2 separate regions of the Homo sapiens genome follow, and region 1 is linked to region 2. Evidence: promoter capture Hi-C in 16 types of primary human blood cells and fetal thymus (Javierre and others, 2016). All regions are on one chromosome and are shown on one strand. The core of a region is centred on a gene start or on the middle of the fragment in contact, and the rest is flanking DNA. Distances in the headings are between cores, read along the strand shown. Region 1 has its middle 5.4 kb from the start of HAUS7. Region 2 holds the start of ZNF275 (zinc finger protein 275).

Region 1 (2,851 bases), core at 306-2,805, 140 kb after region 2:
CCATCTTTGTCCTCCTGCCCCGGGCCCCAAAAATGGGAGGGATGGTCTGGGGCCCTGGGGACCTTTGGGTTTCCCGCTTCTGCCCTCGAACTGCCTGTTTGCAGTGGACGCAACGGGAGAGGCGGGGGCGGGGGCGGGGGCGGGGGCGGGGGCGCGGGCGCTGGCGCGGGATGGGCGAGTGGCTGCGCGTGCACGCGGCTCGCGGGAGGTGGCGGGCGGGGGCGAGCGCTGCTGCACGTGCGCGGGGCGCAGCCGCGCAGGCGGCGGCAAAGGAAACGGCGGCGGGCGGGATCGCCCCCTCCGCGGGGAGACGCTCGGGTCTAGACGGCTTGGCAAGGCCGGCGGGGCTGAGTCACATGCGTCTGGAGCGGGAAGCGAGGGCGCCAGGACGGGAACACGAACGTGCCCGCTCGGAGGGCCGGCCGGGGGAGGGGGCGCCCGCCTCGCCTTCTTGCTTTGCCCGAGCTCCCCGGCCGGGCCTGAGCTCCAGCTTCTGCCCAACCTCCGTTCCCTGCCGAGGTCCTCGAAGCCCACCGGAGGGGATGGGGCGGGGCCGCTTTCACACGGAGTCCAGCGAAGCCACGCTATGGGCGGGAATGAACTCGAATTTCACACGGGCAAAGAGGGTGGGAAACTGGCCCCTATTCTGCCCCCATCCCGACCACGGCCCTGCTCCCTATGGGCTGGTCCCTGCTGCGTGCCACCCTCTGCAGTCCCCCTCCACTGGCACCCTCCACCCCATCCGCAGCCACCCTTGTCCCATTTGGGGTCCTGTGTTCCCCTTCCCTCCTTTTTCTTCTCCACCCCCACCCCGCAGCAGGCTCTCTCGCTCAGGATCACCAGGTCTCAAGCATTTAGTGCTCACCAAAGCGTCTGCAAGAAAAGTCATTTAATTGGGACCAGATCCTCTGAGGTTTCAGTAGCATTAAAATAAGATGGGTTTCCTCTAGGGAAGAGTTGCGGGCAACAGGAAGAGGGCATGGAAAATGGGGCTTTTTTCTTCTCCAAGCTTTAAGGGGGAAAGGCCCCATATTGTTACTGACATATAAGATAGCTGCAGGCGCATGTCCCCAGAGAATGCCACCCATGTGCCACACACTGCTGTCGTTTTCACTCAGACAACATGTGGAAAGCTCAAGAATGGGCCTGTTCCTTTTCTCTGGGGGTCACCCCAAGGCTGTGTCTCTGGCTGCCCTGGGCCCTGGGAAAAGGACAGGCACGTAGTAGGTGCTCCTGCAGAGAGCAGGAGAGCAGGAGAGCAGGAACAGCCCCCAGACCTTGACCCTGAGGCCCAAATGCTCCTGACCCCACCCGCTCCTCCTCGCAACCCCGCCTCCACCCTTGGCCAGCCACTATCACCTGGCCCCTGGCGGGCTCAGCTGCCACACGGTGGCTCCCACCTCCTACCCTTATGCCCCCAGTACATCTGCTCGTGCTCCACCCCACAGCCTGAGGGGGGCCGGATCCTGTGACTCCTCTGCTTAGCAGTCCAAGGTGGCTCCCTGATTCTTTCAAGGACAAAGGCAAGCCAGCCCACCGCCACAGACACCTTCCCACGGCTCACTCAGCCTGCTCCACCACATTGCTGTCATTGCCAATGCTCAAATTGGGCCCAACCCTTTCTCACCTGGGGCCTCTGCACTGGCCATCCCTCTTTTTCGGAGGGCTCTTTCTGTGGCTTTTTGCATGGCCATGGCCTCTTCACTCATGCCTCTGCCCAAATGTCACTTTCTCACGGTCCTCACCTGATCCCCTGTCAGTGAGCAAAGAATCCACTGTCCAGTCCTCGTTGATGACAGCCTTGAGGGACAAACAGCATTGCTTTGGCATCCTCCAGGCTACCAATCTGAGTCCCAGCTTGTAGAGGGTATGTGTGTGCATGAGTGTGTGAAGAGTGGGCTACATGGAAGGGAAGGGGGAGGAGGACAAGGGACAGGAGTCCCTTCCTTGACCTTAGAATCCTGGGATTGTACAACTAGAAGCGACCTTGATCATGTAATCCAGCTTCTCTAGGCGCCTTCTGGCTCTCAGATTCTAGAACTTTCTAAGGAGCCTGTTTCCACCATACTGAAATGAGAAGACTGGGGCACTGAGGAGGGAGGGAAGCTTGTTCCTGATGTCACATGGCCAGTCCGTCCATGGCAGAACTGGGAGCCCAAAGCTCTTTCCAGCAACCCTCGGGCTGCATCCCTGGTTCCTGGAAAATCCCAACAGCCCTCCCACCCTCTGCTCCAGACACCGGGCTCGGGATTACTGTTGGCTTGGGGCCTGCCTGTCTCAGCACAAGTCCGTCAGTGAGCTCTTGGGCGGGGGGGAGGGCAAGGCAGAAACTTGCCGGGAGCCTCTGGCTCTGCTGAGCCCCTGAAGGCTGGCTCTGCTCCATGGGGGTTCCTTCAAGGTCCCCACAATGGCCGGGTGCCCTGGGACTGGACAGAGTGGGCAGCAGGAGTACCACTCCCCAGGGGCCCACCCAGGTCAGCCACCAGGCTCCCGACCAGGGGAAGGGCAGCGAGGCCAGGCCTCCATGGGAGCTGGGAACTGAGAGCACCCCAGGCCTCACCCCTTCCTGCCTAGGTGGGTAGGAGCGGAGTCCCTCCCTCCTCCAGGCTGGCTGTGCCAGAGAAACCTGGGAGCAGGCTTCCCCCACCCCCAGCCCAGCTAATGGGAACCAGATGGCAGGATGTTTAGTCAGCGCCTGGGGAGCGGCGCAAACAGGGGAAATGGGTAGGGGGCCAGGATTCCAGAATCCATCCCCAGGCAGGGGGAGGGGCGGAGCCGGGGTTCCCATCACCGTCCAGTCTCCCGACCCCAGGTGCTAGGCTCAGCTCAGGCAGGGACCTACCCCGTTTCT
Region 2 (2,826 bases), core at 298-2,797:
AATAGCAAAGACGTGGAATCAACCTAGGTGATCATCAGTGGTGGATTGGATAAAGAAAATGTGGTAGGCATTCACCACAGAATGCTATGCAGCCATAAAAAAAGAATGAAATCATGTCCTTTGCAGCAACATGGATGCAGCTAGAGGCTGTTATCCTAAGTGAATTAATGCAGGAACATAAAACCAAATGCCACACATTCTCATTTATAAGTGGGAGCTAAACATCGGGTACTCGTGCGCATAAAGATGGGAACAACAAACAATGGGAACTACAAGAGGGGTCAGGGAAGGAGGGGTCAAGGGTTTAAAAACTAACTATTGTGTACTATGTTCAGTACTTGGATGACAGGGTCATTCGTACCCCAAACCTCAACATCACACACTATACCCAGGCAACAAACCTGCACATGTACCCCCTAAATCTAAAATGAAAGTTGAAAACATAAAATTTCTCAGGAACTACATGTGTGTGTATATATATATACATACATACACACACACATATATACACACACATTGCACATAATGGGCTAGCTTTCTCTTTTGTCTCTCTCTCTATATATACACACACACATATATATACATATATATATACTGCACATAACATTGGGCAAACTACTTGAACAGACACTTTACAAAGAAAGATATAGAAATGGCCAGTGAGCACATAAAAGCATACTCAACATAATTAGTCATCAGGGAGATGATAATTGAAATAACAATGAGATGCCACTTCCCACCCTTTCAAATGGCTAAAAATAAAGGCTGACAACCTCAAATGTTGATGAGGATGGGAAAGAAAAGGAGCTCGCATACATTTCTGGTGGGAATGTAAATTGCACAACCACTTTGGAATACATTCTGGCAGTTTCTTATAAAACATAAAACTATCCTGTGATGTGGCAATTCATCTCTTAGGTATTTGCCCAAGAAAAATGAAAGCATATGTCCACACAAAGATGTGTACATGAATATTCATAGTAGCTTTATTTATAATCGCCCAAACTGGAAACAGCCCAGATCATAACCTGGTGAATGAACAAACCAACTCTGATATATCCAAACAATAGCATACTACTCAGCGATAGCACATTCAACAACATAGATAAATCTTGAAAACATCACGTTGAATGAAAGAATCCAGACACACAATAGTACATACGATCTGATTCCATTCATACAGAATACTGGCTTTCCAGTCTTCGCCCTCAGTTCCCGACCCTTCACTCCCCCCACCACCATCTTGAAGATGCCCAAGGGGGAGAGGTCCCTTCCATTCCTTCGTTCCTTCCTTCGTCTGCTGGTCGATTTGTTCGCTCGTTCATTCATTCATTCGCACGCTCATTCCACTCCTCCCCACCTCCACCCAAGCGTCCAGCCCGCGCGCGCCGCTCCCCCGCAGGCTGATCAGACTTGCCTGCCCAGTCCGCCCCCGCCCAAACCCCGCCCCCTTCCCGCCACGCCCCCTTCCCGGGCCAATCGGGGACGAGACTGGGGCCGGGGCGGGGCCTCGCTCCCTCAGAACCCCCGGCGGCGCTCACGGCTCCGGAAACGCGCCGCGGGGCTGTTAGCTCGGCTGGGCACGGGCGGCTCCGTGGCGCTTCCTGCCACGCCAGGCCTGCCTGGGCCGCGCCAGCGCCGCTCCACCGAGGGCCGCGCGTCGGCCGCCGCCGGGCCTGGGTGAGTGTGCGGGCCGCGGGAGGATGTGCGGGGGGCGCTGGAGGGGCCGCAGGGCGGAGGTGATCGTGGGGGCGGCAGGAGGACGTGTGGACCTGAGTGAGCGTGCAGGGCCGCGAGAGGATGTGCAGGGGGTGCAGGACTGTGTGCGGGGCTGGAGCGAGTGTGCGGGCCGCAGAAGAGTGCACGGTGGAGGGAGGGGGCGTCTCTGGGCAGTTGGAGAGCTGCTCGGCCTTGGGCGGGCCAGAGCAGGGAACGGGTCCCGGATGACGAGTACGAAGAGGCCCGAAGGCCTTCCCGAGGCGGGCGGGGGGCGGCGATCCCGGGTGGGAATCGCTAAAGTGTAGAGGCCTGCTCTGCTCTTTGGGGGACGCTAGGAGATGGGAACCGCTCAGGGGCGGAGAGAAAGGACCCCTGCCCCTAGCTCCTAGGAGCCCGATCTGGAGGGGGCATTGTAGGGGTGGGGGTTAAAGGACTTTTCCCTGGTCTAGGGGAGGGACTGAGCCGCAGTCTGGGAGCTGGGAGGGTGGGCCAGGTGGGAACAGTTCCCGCTGGGGAGTCCCTCCTTTCCTTTTGAGTGGGTGGGAGTGGGGGGGGGCGGTTAAGCCTCAGCTTGGTGGGGAGAATGGGGGCCGGTAGGTAGCCTAGAGAGAGAGCTGTGGAGAGGCAGGGGAAAGGGGGCGGTGAGCCGAGCTCAAGGCCCTCTGTCTGAACCAGTCTTTTTCTGTCGCCCTACTGGGGGCCGCCATCTCCCACTTCAGTGCCCCCGCCCCCTTAAACTCCTTTGCTGGCTCCTCCAGTCTATATTTGGGTGATTAATTATATATCTTTTCCACACACACCCCCCACTCGCCTGCCGCCCAAAGTCCATGGTCCCTTTCAAACAACCCCCTGCCCCCATTCCTGGCCCACTTCCCAGAGGTCCCACCCTGCCACCTTGTTCCAACTGAAGCCCTCCAGCCAGCCTTGACCTAGCTGGGCATGCGGCCCCCTCCAGTCTCCTTAGTCAATGAAACATTTCCTCTTCAACCTCAGCCCGACATTTTTCCTTTACAAGAGAATTTCAGATGGGATTGCTGGAACAGCACCTCCCCTAGGTACTAATGCTGCCTCAGCCCCTCCCCACCCTCACCTTCCCCCAACCCTGCA

Evidence for each region. The method cuts DNA at HindIII sites, captures the fragments that hold promoters and counts their contacts. A CHiCAGO score of 5 or more calls a contact.
Region 1: a contact is called between a fragment that was not itself captured here and the fragment with the promoter of ZNF275 in region 2, in 2 of 17 cell types (monocytes and total CD8 T cells). The highest score is 5.4, in monocytes.

The regions. Positions count from the first base shown.
Region 1 is chrX:153,474,584-153,477,434 of GRCh38, forward strand. It overlaps a transcript of HAUS7 not described here. Among named protein-coding and RNA genes, the nearest start is that of HAUS7, 5.4 kb to the left of the region's middle. RefSeq lists enhancers at 1,392-1,931, 2,127-2,627, 2,628-2,851. The HindIII fragment of the contact is 1,097 bases long and covers 1,008-2,104 here.
Region 2 is chrX:153,332,606-153,335,431 of GRCh38, forward strand. ZNF275 (zinc finger protein 275) reads left to right here and starts at 1,548. Exons shown (of 4, transcript NM_001367757.1): 1 at 1,548-1,680. RefSeq lists silencers at 1,342-1,711, 1,802-1,881. The HindIII fragment of the contact is 4,020 bases long and covers 1-2,826 here.